2 separate regions of the Homo sapiens genome follow, and region 2 is linked to region 1. Evidence: promoter capture Hi-C in 16 types of primary human blood cells and fetal thymus (Javierre and others, 2016). All regions are on one chromosome and are shown on one strand. The core of a region is centred on a gene start or on the middle of the fragment in contact, and the rest is flanking DNA. Distances in the headings are between cores, read along the strand shown.

The links. Contacts are between HindIII fragments. The CHiCAGO score rates a contact against its expected background, and 5 or more counts as called.
Region 2: a contact is called between a fragment that was not itself captured here and the fragment with the promoter of MYH6 in region 1, in 1 of 17 cell types (megakaryocytes). The highest score is 9.1, in megakaryocytes.

The regions. Positions count from the first base shown.
Region 1 is chr14:23,404,933-23,412,093 of GRCh38, forward strand. MYH6 (myosin heavy chain 6) reads right to left here and starts at 3,341. Exons shown (of 39, transcript NM_002471.4): 1 at 3,321-3,341; 2 at 2,644-2,676; 3 at 2,091-2,304; 4 at 695-838; 5 at 291-447; 6 at 168-195. The coding sequence starts at 2,291. RefSeq lists enhancers at 1-4,511, 2,194-2,694. The HindIII fragment of the contact is 15,953 bases long and covers 1-4,254 here.
Region 2 is chr14:23,449,139-23,456,299 of GRCh38, forward strand. No RefSeq gene overlaps it. Among named protein-coding and RNA genes, the nearest start is that of NGDN, 17 kb to the right of the region's middle. The HindIII fragment of the contact is 2,522 bases long and covers 3,059-5,580 here.

The DNA of each region.
Region 1 (7,161 bases), core at 2,091-4,590:
AGGATTTGCCTGACATGGTTCATTGCTCTGGCACCCCTCTAATGAGAGCTCAGTGCCCCATGCTCCCTGCAATCCCAGCCTTAAACCTCTCCTCCCAACTACACCCTAGGCATCAGCGTGTATGCCCCCAGCCCAGTCCCTTCTGTGGGAGGATGGCACTCGCTCACGTGATGAGGATGGACTGGTTCTCCCGATCTGGAAGAAAAAAGAGGAGAAGCAATGGGGTCAGGGCTGAGGATCTGGGTGGGTGTCTGGGAGGAGGAGCAGAGACCAGGGGCCACCAGGCTCACCTGTCAGCATGTACTGATAGGCGTTGTCGGAGATGGAGAAGATGTGGGGCGGGGCCTCACTCCTCTTCTTGCCCCGGTAGGCGGCCACCACCTCGGCATTGTACACCGGCAGCCACTTGTAGGGGTTGACAGTGACACAGAAGAGGCCCGAGTAGGTCTGGAGCAGGAGACAAGGCTGGGCATGAGGTTGGTGGGGAGAGCCTGGGACAGGCAGTGGTGGCAGCCAGGCATGTCCCTGTTCACTCCAGCTGGCTCTACTCCTCCTGCAGCTGACTAGGGGTGGAGGGGGGAAGGGGACTTGGGTCCCTTGGGAGTCTCTCCCCCTCTTCTTGGGAGAGCCCCCCTGGCTTATTTAGGCCTCCACGCAGCACAGGAAGCCTCTGCAGTGTGCAGGAGCCACTCACATATATCATCCAGGCCGCGTAGCGCTCCTTGAGGTTGAAAAGCACCGCGGGCTCGTGCAGGAAGGTCAGCATGGCCATGTCCTCAATCTTGTCGAACTTGGGTGGGTTCTGCTGCAACACCTGGTCCTCCTTCACAGTCACCGTCTGGAGGGGGCGCATAAGCAGGAGGATGAGTGACCACAATCCCTCCGGGACCCTTGCCAGCACTGCCCACTGACCTCCTCCCAGGACACAGGGACTTGGCCTTGCTCCCCTTGCTCTGACCAGTGCCCCGGCCCCTACCCCGATGTCCCCTGGGACACTTTCCCCAGGTAATTTCCCTTCCCATTGTATCTCCCATCCTAGAGACTGTCCTAGGGTACCTTTCTCTTGCCAGATCCCCAGACCATCCTGGGGACACCCTGTGCCCATGACCATCACTCTTCAGTCCCTATGTTCCAAGGGTCTTGGGGCAGACCTGGAGATTGGCAGCTCTCAGATCTGTGCACACCTTATGCTGACCCCGAGGCTGTCTCCCGCGGGCAGCGCTTTAGGGTATCTGTTGCTCAGGGCAAACCTTCACCCCTGCTGGAAAAGTAGTTCACCCATCTACTCCACACTCCCCATCCATCACTGTTGGTGTGGTTTGATTGGCAGCAGTCAGTTTGCCATGCCCTGATGTCATTAGATCCTGCCAGTAGGTATTCCAGTGTTTTTTATAGTGGAGAAATCCGTGGCTCTAAATGACTAAATGATTTGCCTGCACAGTGACTAGCGGGTGGCAGAGCTGGGATCAGAGTCAAAAGCCCCAGGGGATTGTGGCCTGTTATTCTACACTTCAATGGGTTGTAACATTCAGTCAACGAGTTCATGAGGCACACAGCCCTGAGCCGCAGCTGGTAACCAGGGGTGATTCTCTTGGCTGGTGTGAGCAAACCAGGGACCAGAGCTTCTGAGTGCCAGTCAAGGAGAGTGCTCAGCTCAAAAGTTTCTGATCTTTGTGTTCATCTGGGTCTAAGAATTACTCTTGATTTGGGTGAACGGAATTTGAGAAAGTGGACTCATGGAGGAAACTGAGGCACAGGGAAGAGGGATACAAGTGCAAGAAGGGGGCATCATTTAATGCTGTGTCTGTGCCCTCTTTATCTACAAGACCCCTCTTAGGCGAACACTGAGGTTCTTCTTCCTCAGCATCCTCTCTGGCAGGGGGAACATGGCCCTGGGTGGCACCTGTTGCACCAGCTCAGGTCAATTTGAGAGGGATCAGATTCTGGGCTCCTCAAAGGAGCATGTCCTGGCATCCCCACTGGCCTTGGCTTTTCTCCAGCCCTCTCAGCTCCCCCTGCAAGTGGCTCCACCTCTGCATCTTCTTTCCCAGACCTCCTTCCCTTCTGCCCCGGCGCCATGCCCTACTCACCTTCCCATTCTCGGTTTCAGCAATGACCTTGCCTCCCTCCCGGGACAAAATCTTGGCTTTGACAAACTCTTCCTTGTCATCGGGCACGAAGCACTCAGTGCGAATGTCAAAGGGCCGGGTCTGGGCCTCTAGACGCTCCTTCTCTGACTTGCGGAGGTACTGGGCCGCTGCCCCAAAGTCAGCCATCTGGGCATCGGTCATCTTGGTGCTTCCCCTGGGTCAGAGACAGGAGGGCTATGTTACTCCTGAGGGAGCCCAGGCTCCAGCGAGTGGCTTTGTCCTCTGCAGCCCCCCTCCCTACCCCCGCTCCTCTCCTCCACCCTGGGAGAGGCACCTGCTGTTGCACCCTCCCCTACTCAGGGCTCTGCTTCTCCTGCCCTCTGAGGTGATGCTGAAGGACAATCTCTGTAAGGGGTTTCCCTGGGGTGGCATTGGCTGGAGTATGCTAAGGGTTGGCGCTGAGTGCTTGGGACAGCAGACCCCTGGTCCAGCAATCCGGCTCCCAGGAGAAGCATGCCCCAGTCTCTGCAGAGAAAATGGGGGCAGTTCTCACCTGGTTATCCCTTCACGGAGAATCCTGAAGAATCTGGACCGTGGGTGGAGCAAGGAACAACAGAGGTAGAGCCGGGCAGAGAGAAGAACAGATGAGGAGAGTGAAGAACAACAGAGGCAGGCCACCCGGGGATGGAGGCAGCCCCAGAGCGCAGACAGGCAGGACAGACCAGGGAGTCAGAAAGGGAAAGACGCAGAGGCAGAAAAGAAAGGGCACCGAGTCAATATGAGTGCGAGGGACGGGGTGTGGAAACAGGGTTAGAAGCAGAGAGGCAGGGAGGTGAGAACACGTGCCAAGAAGGAAGGACAAGGGAGAGAGACAAAGAAGCATGATTGTGACAAGTGTCGATGAAGACCAAGAGGCAAGATAAAACCAGGATCAAGGGAAGGAAGCCATCCAAAGGAGGAAGGAAGATGGAAAGATGGAGACAACATGTAGGAGACTCAGAATGATGCAGAGAAAGAAATGGAGAGTCAGAGAAGGAGAAAAGAGGTTTCTGGGTTTCCTGTGGAACCTCCTTGTGTCAGGGGGAACTTCCCTGGGCCTGGAGATAGGCAGTTTTAATAGAGCCCTTAGGCCTCCAACTGACCTGCACCCCACTCCTGGTGAAGGAGGTCCCTCACGGTGGGGGCTCTGTGGACGGGCTGCAGGGCATCCCACCCCAAACCTCCTCTTACCTGGGCCGCAGGAGTCTCTCTATCTGTCCTCAAAGCTCCAGTTCCTTTATATCCCGTTTCCCCCACCCTCTGTCTAAATTTGGAGTCCTTCCGGAGGGACCCTCCCTCCCACCTCTCTCCCCTCCTGGCTCCTCCTCCTTTGATCCTTTGGCTCTGGAGGTGACAGGAGGACAGCAGGGCCCCCTGATTTGCCCAAGAAAGGTCTGCTGCCCCAGCCTCTCTGGCTCCACGGCCTTTTTTTAGTCCTTGGGCACATTCCTCCCCTTCAAAGGGCTGATGAGCAGATAGTGGGAAGACAGGACCTTCTCACACCGCCTCTCCCACCCTGCCATGGCCCTTACCTCAGTTATTTTTAACCCGAAGGGTGAACTGAAAACATGGGTGAGGGTCACCTTCTCCTGCAGGCCAAATGCCTGTCCTCCGCCTCCCAACCATGGGCTTTCCTCCCCTGTTCCCCAGCCTCTCCTTCCCATTCTGACCTCCCTCACACAGTCCCAGGCTGGGAGCATCTTCCTGCTGTTAGTACTGGAGCCCCCAGTGCTAGGGACTAAAAGCTGCAGTATGGTGCCCAGGGAAGGGATCTGTTGTCCATCTCCATGGCTCAGTTTTCTTTTGTCAGGAAATTCTGTCCTGGCCTCAGTCTGCATAAGTGCCATGCCTGGTCTCCTTCTGTTCCCCAAGTCTTCAGACAAGTGTTCTCCCAAGGTCTTGAGGCCACCCTGGTTTGGGGACACGTCTGGAGTCCCCACCCCTTCCCTAATGCTCCTGATAGAGTGGCCAACATCCAACCTGCTCACGCAATGGCAGTGATTCTCCCTGCCGCCTCAGGCAGATTTTCACACAGAACCCCAGTTCAGCACTCTCACATACAGACTTGACCGTGTCTGTGCCCATCTTCAGCCACACATGCAGATTTTTCACACTTACCCACTCAAGCTTGCAGATTTCTTTTCTACTTTCTTTTGTGTACATGGATGCACACATTTGCACATCCGCATTTGCACACATAGGCTTTTGCCCTCCCCTGCTACCCTCTGCTCCTGGGGTGGGGTGGGCAGAAGAAGATGGTGCTAATCCTAGGGCCTGAGAGAGGAGGGGGGTGGGTGAGGGGCTGTCCCCTTCTGCCTCACCGGGCTGCCAGAGGGTGCAGGTGCCTGGCAGGCCTGGGGATTTACACCATCTGGTCCCCAGGCACTGCATTCCATCGGGGTGGGGCTCTGCCACCTGCCCCCTCCCCAGGCAGAATTTTGTTGCCCCTTTCCAAGCCCTCCAGGGCTTATACTCACATTCCCTTCTTTGTGGGTGTCCTCAAGCACCCTAGGCCCTCAAGGCCCCGCTCCCCATCCTCCAATGCTGCCATCTCTCAGAGGCTGTAGGTGTCAGGTCTTCAGCAGGCTGTTCCTGTTATGACTAAGTGGACATTGTGTTCAGGAAACAAAGCCAGACTCCCCTGCTCTGGCCTTCCCCCCACCCTCACACCCAGGAACACCCTCCCAGCCCCCCTCCCACCAGTTTACTGTCACCTCTCAATATAGCTCCAGGGTGTGGAGGTGGGTAGGACGACAGGGGTCAGCTTCTCTGGGTAGGAGCACTTTCCATTAAGATGTGGCCTCTCCCCTAGCTCCCTAGGACGCTGCCACCCCATTCCTGGGCTCAGGAACACACCTCTCTTTCCAGAGCATTTGGACCTTTTCTCAATGTCCTTGGAGGGACCTTAGTTGACCCCACATCCCCATCTTCTGCAGGTGCTTATGCCAAATCATTACCCCCAGGGGATGCAGGCCACCTGTCCCCAGCTCTAGGTTACTCGAGGCCCCAGAATTCGAGCCGGGGGGTTAGCCCATGGCCAGTGCGTCACTGCTTGGTTCCCATAGCTCTGGGGACATGATAAGGAGCTGAGAACGCCAGGTCAGTCTGGGTCGGGGTCAGGTGACAAAGACCAGGCTTTGTCCTCAGGGAACCCTGTGCTCTGAGCAGGCCTCACTTGGTATAGGTGGTGGTGGCAGGGCAGCGGGGAGTGGAGGTGGTGGGGGGTAGTCCCCCGCTCCTGTGGAAGGAGGAGGAAGGAAGGTGTTCACTCAGCCCCAGGCCCTGCCCGTCTGCTCCGCTGTACCGTCCTCTCCCTTCCCCAGGCTCCTTCTCTCCCTGCTCTCACATATTGCTCTCCGTCCTCCCTAAGCTGCCTTGCACACAGCTCCTCATTCTGCTGGGAGTCCTGGAATATAAGGACAGGGATGGAGGCTTCGGCCACAGGTGAGGGTGCCAAGGAGGCAAGGCTGGCCTCCCTGGCACAGGTTGCCTGTCTTCTGCCTGGCTCCCCGTTGCATCTGTCTCTGTCTCACCTTCATTCCCTCTGCCTGCTTCTCCATCTCAGAGTGGGGCCTGCCTCCGATTCTCCCTGGCCCGTGTCTCCACCCGGCTCAGGGTCTAACATGAGGCTCTGCCCTCTCCGAGCTGGCCTCTTCTCTCGCCCTGGGCCTCCACATCTTGCTCCAGGCTCTTCCTCCTCTCCAATCTCCTTGCGCCTTCCTGACTCTCCTTGCATTTGCAAGTGACCCAGGATTCTTTCCTTCACTCGGGATCACCACCCGCAGCTCTTCAAGCTTCTCCCTCCAAGGCTCCCTCTCTTTTCCTCTCTCCCCATCCCCCTCAGCACCCCTCCTTCTCCCTGGCTTGGCTCTCAGACCTCTCTCAACCCTGCTGTCTGCATCCAGCCCCCGACCATTCTCATAGGATCTGTATCTCTTGCGGTCTCTCTTGCTCTGGTTGCTTAGGTGCCCTGGGTCTCTCTGCATAGCTCCCTTTTCAAGGGTTCTCTCCTTTGTTTCTAGTTATCTCTTCATTGCTGTCCAAGTCTGTTCCTAGCCAGAGGAATGGCCCTAGGGATCTCGGCCCAAGCCGAGGTTGTGCCACTGCACTCCAGCCTGGGCAGCAGAGTGAGACTCCGTCACAAAAACAAAAACAAAAACAAAAAGGCTGAAAGAATCCTAGAAATCACAGAGAACTGAATTACCTTGGCCTCTGGGGCTGTGTGGTTCAATTGAGCTGGATAAATGAAAAGGAAGCATCCCTGGTTTGAGGGAGCTCTGTCTGGGTTGGCCTAGGGAAGGAGAATGGAGGTGGCTATGAGGAGAAAGGTGGCGGCGCCTGCGGATCTTTCTGGGGCCTCCTCATTTCCTGCATCTTTTTTCCTTGTCTCTGTTTCCTCTGGTTACCTTGTCCTGTGGTTGCTCAATCTCTTTGTCCACTGCCACCCCCTCAGGTCTTTCCTTGTCCCCTCCCTACCCCCTTTTTCTCCTCTGCTGTCACCTGCTATTGTCCAGTACTGGTTTCTCCTTCTCCGGCTTAGGGCCCTTGGCTCTGGCTGCCGCAGTCCTCAGAGCTCCGAGCTCAGAGCTGGGTACAGAGCAGGAGTGGGCTCCGAGTGGGTATGTTGGTGGGTTGGGGGAGATCCAGTCCAGGGCTGAACCACTGCTTCCCAGGTTCCCAGTGGGGCCGACAGCCCCAGTGCCTTTCAAGCCCCTGACCTCTGTGGCCCACAGTCCCAGGCCTGCCTAAGCAACCCAGCTGTGGCAGGAACTCCAAAGGGGCTGAACTTGTTTAGTTGGAGGAGACTTACTCTTTCCTCCACCTCCTGGCCCTCTCGGGAGCCATCCCTTCCCTCCCTCTCCCCAGAGTCCTGTTCACACATAACCTTCCCCAGCCCCTCATCTGTCTGCCTCCCCTCAAGATGGCTTGCCATAAATGGGCCAGGAGAACCCCATCTTCCCACAAGCCCAGAGGACAAAGGGCTTGGTAATGGGAATTACAATGGGAAGAAATGAGTGGGAAGAAGGGAGCA
Region 2 (7,161 bases), core at 3,070-5,569, 45 kb after region 1:
TATACTATTCGGCAGATTCCACCTTCGAAATGTCCCGCCTCCTCCTTTCTTTTCCATTCTCTTGAAAAACACTAGGCAAGCCCCTTTTTCACGTCTGCATAATTGCAACAGCACCTTAACTAGTCTTCCAGAGGCTCATTTCACCAGATGGCTAGCAGACTTGATTTTCTAAAGCACTACCTCTTACATATCTGTCATTCATAGAAACTTCCAGGGCTCCCTGTTGTCTTTAAGATGAAGCCTGGACTCCTCTGGCTGGCATTTAAAGACCCTCCATAAGCTGGCCCAACTGCCCCACCTTATCCCTTCACAGTCTCCCCCCAGGTCTGACTGGTCTATGGACAGCACCCTCACCCCAGGTTGGGCTTTCTCAGTCCCTGACCTTGTCGGGACTTTTTCTGGCTGCTTTTCTAGGCACAGCTCAGTGGCTCTCCTTTGAAAGCACTTGCCAGTCCAACACAGCTGACCCTGAAACACACAAAACAAACTTTGTTGAAACTTTACAACTACAAAAATGACACCCAAGATCTCCTACCCAATCACATTATTCTCCTTTGTTCAGTTCTTTCCAAGGGGTGTGTATATGTGTATAATACATATTTTTTGTATGGCTGCTGTGTGTAGATATATATGTACATAATCTCATAAAACACCAATTAGCATTTCATATTCTTACAATCTTATATTTCATAAATGGGGATAATAATATTGCTAACCTATGGGTTTGCTGTCAGATAACTTAATACAGTGATATAGTTTAAATATGTGTCCCCCCAAATCTCATGTTGAAATGTAATCCTCAGTGTTGGAGGTGGGGACTGGTGGGAGGTGTTTAGGTCCTGGGCGTAGATTTCTCATGAATGGTTTAGCTCCATCCCCTTGGTGCTGTCCTCACCATAGTGTGTGTGTTCTCTCAAGATCTGATTGTTTAAAAGCGTGTGGCACCCTCTCCCTGTCTTGCTCCCGCTCTTGCCATATGACATGCCTTCTCCTGCTTTGCCTTCTGCCATGAGTAAAAGTTCCTTGAGGCCTTCCCTGAAGCTGAGCAGATACTGTAAAGCCTGCAGAACTGTGAGGCAATTAAACCTCTTTTCTTCGTAAATTACCCAGTCTCAGGTACTTCTTCATAGCAATGCAAGAATGGCATAATACATACAGAGATTCTCAAACTTGTTCATGCTGCAGAATCACACAGAAGCTTTGTTAGGACACATTTTCTTGGCTGGGTGCAGTGGCTCATGCTTGTAATCCCAGGACTTTGGGAGGCAGATCATTTGAGGTCAGGAGTTTGAGACCAGCCTGATCAACATGATGAAACCCCATCTGTATGAAAAATACAAAACAATTAGCTGGTGTGGTGGTGCATGCCTATAATCCCAGCTACCTGGGAGCCTGAAGCAGGAGAATCACTTGGGCCTGGGAGGTGGAGACTGCAGTAAGCCGAGATTGCATCACTGCACTCCAGCCTGGGATGCCTGAATTTGCATACCAGATGCTACTGGATTGAGGACCACACATTGAGAACCACTGAATTAATGCATGTAAAGTGCTCAGAATAGTGCCTGGCATGTAGTAAATGCCCAATAAATGGAGCTACGGAGCTATTCATTTGCTATTTCTGAGTAAAAATATTAACATTTACTTGTTTGATATTTAGATTGTTTATAGTTTTAAATAACATTGTTATTGAGATATAATTCATGTGCCATAACATTTACCATTTTACAATATACGATTCAGTAGTTTTTAGTATATTCAGAGTTGTGCAAGCATCACCACTATCAAATTTTAGAACATTTTCATCACCCCCAAAAGAAATACCATACCTATTAGCAGTTACTCCTCTTTCCCACTGACTCCCTGTTTGTAGTTTTTTTGAACTTATAAATAAAGTATCTCTAAACATAAGTACACATGGCTTCTTTTTATTTTGAATGATTTCAATAGAACAAATTCTAGGAGACGAATTCCTTAGTCAAAAATTATGAATATGTTTACATATAGCCACTCTTTGAAAGCATTAATTTACAATCATTGTGGCTTTTTTTCCTGCTGTTGCTTTTCATTGTTAGCATATTGCTTATTCTTACACCGCTTCAGTTTCCTTAAGTTGATGGCACCAGAATATGAGGTCCTTGGGGTTGAGAACTGTAATATTTTCATCTTTGTGTCCCCTAGGGCTACACTACTGAGTGTGGTAGTCACTAGCCAAACATGGCTGTTGGGTACTTGAAATGTGTCTAGTGCAACTGAGACACTGAATTTTTCATTTAGTTAAAATTTAAAATGAAGGGAGATCAATTTATTTTCAACAAAGATTCCAAAACAATTCTTTGAGGAAATGGTGCTGGATACACACATGCAAAAAGATACATTTAGACCACACCCCACACTATACACAAAAATAACTTAAAACAGTTCAGAGACTTACATGTAAGATCTAAAACTTACAATTTTTGGAAGAAAACGTAGGAAAAGTCTTTGGTTAGGAAACAAGTTCTTACATACAATACCAAAAGCATAATCCACAAAAGACAAAATTGTAAGTTGGACTTCATCAAAGTTGAAAGATTTTGTGCTTCAAAAGATGTCATTAAGAAGATTAAAATTTTAAAAAGAAAATTAAAATCTAAGCCACAGACTGGAAGAAAATACTTGCAAATCATATTTCTAATAAAGGACTTGTGTTAAGAATAGATAAAGAACAAGTACAACTCAATAATAATACAAGAAAATTTTAAAATAGTCAAAAGATTTATAGACTTAAAGTCAGCTAATTAGCAAGGTTAAAGAAAGAAAAGATTTATAGATATTTCAACAAAGATATGCAAATGTATAACAAGCACACAAAATATGCTCAACATCATCAATCATTATAGAAATTCTAATTAAAACCTCAATGAGATAGCACTTCATACCCATGAGTGTGACTATAATAAAAAAGAAAGGCAATAATAAATTGTGGCTAGGATGTGGAGAAACCAAAACTCTCCAACATTGCTGGTGAGAACGTAAAATGCAACAGCTACTTTGGAAAACAGTTTGAACTTTTCTTAAAAGCTTAACTGACATACATGTACCAAATAACTCAGCCATCCACTTTTGGGTATTTACTCAATAGAAAAGAAAGTATATATCCACACAAAGACTTATATAAACAAGTTCAAACAAGCGTTTGTTCATAAACGCTTGGATATTATTCATAATATCCAAAAAGTGGAAATAATCCCAATGTTTATCATTAGGTGAACAGATAAACAAAATGTGGTACATCCATACAATGGAATATTATTCAGCAATAAAAAGGAATGAGTACTGATACATGTTATTAATGTAACATGGATTAACCTCAAAAACATGCTAAATGAAAGAATCCAGATGAAAAGGCCACATATTTTATGATTCCATTTCTATGAAATGTCCAGAAAAGGAAAATCTATGAAGACAGAAGGCAGTGGCTGCCTGAAGCTGGTGGTGGAAATGGCAATGGACTGCAAATGGGTGTAAGGGATCCCTTTGGAGCATTGGGAATGCTCTAAATTGGATTGTGGTGATGCTTGCACAAATGTAAATTTTCCTTAAAAATAATTGAATTGTATAAAAGGGGTGAATTTTATGCTATGTAAATTATACCGCAATAAAGCTCTTAAAAAACTAAAGCAGTGTAAAATACTTTCGGTAAAACACAGCTTTGTTGTTTTGGTAGGATTGTTTTACTTCAACGATCAACATAAGATATTGTCGTATTATAGTAACATATCAAGAATATGTGTTGTTTCTAGTGTATACACAAACATCACCAAACTAGTTGTTGTCAATAGATTGATTTGCTCCAGTGCGTTTTTCTCACACTAATTTAACATTATAATGTGTTTATTTGAATATTTGATATAGACAGCATGGTTATAGTGATACCTATATAGAGTCATAATTGGTAATTAAATTGAAATACTTATTATTTTAATTTAATAAATATAACATTTTTATAGTTGAAAAATAAGTATGTACAAAATGTTTTAGTTTAAAACGAAGGCATGTTACTAACATAGAATCTAGTGGGAACACTTCTGATTGTGAACACTCCAACATGTAAAGAGATTATAAGTCGGTCACTCTCATTCTCAAAGCAAGAAGAAAGCTGAACTGAAAACCTACAACTTTTCTTAGTTCTATCAGAGAATTTTGGCTACAGGACAAACTATCACCCTGAAAACTGGAGAGACGGGTGAATACGGAGAATACAAGCCAGCTTACCTGAAGCAGGAGGTGCTGGAACCAGTAACTGACAGGAACACCTAAATGGTAACTTCGATGAATTGCCAGAGGCTGAGCGTGAATTAGCTTGAGAGTTAAAAACTCCTGGGACCCCAGTCTAAGGGGAGAACCCACACTTTCATGAGTTTTACCTCCCACCAGGTTCTCATGATGAAGAATGGAGAGAAATATCCTTATGTTTGGCAGGGCGAGGGTAAAGTGACCATTTAGAAATAAAACCAGAGCTTTCTCCACAACTAAGGCCTATCCAGCAGGGGGAAAGCCTTTGCCGATGTCTTCTTTTACTTGGGGAAAGGGAAATTATCTAGCTCCATCACATTCTGGACTTCCTGTCTCACATATGAGGTAAAAAACAAAACAAAACAAAAAAATACCCTAAGAAACAATTCATTCTGGACTTCTTATCTCACATATGAGGTACAAAACAAAACAAAACAAAAAAATACCCTAAGAAGCAATTATGAAGGTTACAGTCTAGAGTCACAGGTCCACTAAAATACTGAGCTCCAATCATGGGACTATAGAATGCTCTCCTACCCAGTATCTTGCTACCACATCAACAGGACTCCTGAATAGTAAAAGTGGATTATAGCTGACAGGGCTGCAAGGCTTAGATTCTATTTACGAAGGAGTTTCTAAGGAAACTCAAAGACAACAGAGGAGGCAAACACAAGGACTTTAGAAGAAATTAAAATCTTTGACACCTACTGCTGCAGCAAACTAAACACAGTCTAACTCCTGGTCAGATAAAAATAAAAATAAAACTTCACACACAGTCTACCTCAATTCCTATTACCATGTCTGCTTTCAGCAAAAAATTACAAGGCGTGCTAAAAGACAAGAAAAAATACAATCCAAAGAGACATAGCCAGCATCAGAACTAGACTCAGATGTGGCAGAGATTTTGGTATTATCTGTTTTAAAATGTACTGAAGATTTTGTTTCAATCAAGTATGGTAAAATGACAAACATGGAGACAACTGCCTTGAAAGAAGAGCTTATTACAGTTCTTAAGGGGAGGGGACAACTCATGCCACACAGGGCCAGATGGAGAAGCATCCGGTTCAGTCAGGAGGTAGACAGAGAGAGAAAAGCATGGACACAAGCCTTTATTGTGTTTCCCACAGGAAAGGAAGGCAGGGCAAGGTAAATAGCTTAGCTTTGACAAGTCTGGACAATTTCAGCAGGCTCTGTGTTACAGCAGTGATCTCTAGTTGTCTGGTCTCTGGCCCTGGGATTAATTAGGGCAGGGGAAGTACTGGCTTGGTGTGCAAGAGTTAGATAAAGGAGGTGGTTAGGGATACAAGCTTTGGATTGGTTGGTTTGCTGGATGCTCATGGGCAAGTTGTTTACTGCCTCTAGAAATTAGTTAGCTCTGGAAGAGGCAGTCTTTCCAGGATTAGCAGGCCCCTAAGATGTCAAAACCTCATAAAATACAGAAAATTAAAAAACATGATTAATACATTATTGGAGTGGAAATTTAAATTAACTATGATTAATATGCTAAGGACTCTAATGGAAAAAAAGTGGATAATATTCAAGAACAGATGGGTAATGTAAAGCAGAGAGATGAGAACTTTAGGAAAGAATCAAAAGGAAACGTTAGAGTCAAAAACACTGACCAAAAAGAAGAATGCCTTGATGGATTAGTAGACTGGACATGGCTGAGGAAATATTCAATGAGCTTGAAGATATGTCAATGGAAACTTCCCAAACTGAAATGCAAAAAGAAAAGTAACTATATTCAAGAACTGTGGGACAATTACAAAATATGTAATTATGTGTAATGGAAATACCAGAAGGAGAAGGAAATGGGCAGAATAAATATTTGAAGTAATAATGGCAGGCTGGGTGCAGTGGCTCACTCCTGTAATCCCAGCACTTTGGGAGTCCGAGGCGAGCGGATCACAAGGTCAGGAGTTCAAGACCAGCCTGACCAACATGGTGAAACCTTCTCTCTACTAAAAATACAAAAATTAGCCAGGTGTGGTGGTGGGTGCTTATAGTCCCAGCTACTTGGGAGGCTGAGGCAGGAGAATCACTTGAACCCAGGAGGCAGAGGTTGCAGTGAGCGAGATCACGCCACTGCACTCCAGTCTGGTGACAGAGCGAGACTTCATCTAAAAAAAAAAAAAAAGCTGAGAATTTTTTTAAATTAATGACAGAAACCAAACCATAAATGCAGGAAGATTAGACAAAAATATCAAAGCAGGATAAATACCAAAAAAAACCCTATACCTGGGCATATCATATTCAAATTGCAAAAACCAAAGACAAAGAGAAAATCTTAAAGAAGAGAAAAAAATTACCTATAGAGGAATGGATAAGAATGAAAATGTAATTTCTTGTCAGAAATCTGCATGCAAAAAGAGAGTAAAGTGAAATATTTAAAGTGTTGAAAAAAAAATCCACCCAAACTAAAATTTTGAATACAATGAAATTATCTCTCAAAAGTGAAGAGAAAATAAAGACTTCCTCAGGGGACCCTTTCTATTTTGGAGAATGGAGGCTACTCCAGTTAAAAAAAAAAAAAAAAAGTTCTCAAACAAACAAAAGTGAGGGAATCTGTCACCAGCAGACCTGCCTCTCAAGAAATGCTAAAAGACGATTACATAAATCAGAAACTTGCATCTACATAAAGAAAGAAGAACATCAGAGAAGGCAAAAGATGAAGATAAAATAAATCTTTTTCTTAATCCTATCAGATCTAATAGATAACTGTTTGTTCAAAGTAATAATAGCAGCAATGGATTGGGTGATTAGAGCACATGAACAAGTGGTTCGATGAATTATAGCAATGTTAGTAGAGAAGGGAGGGAGGAATTAGGAATACTCTGTTATATTATAAGGTACCTGCATTAACCGTGAGACAGAATATTATTTGAA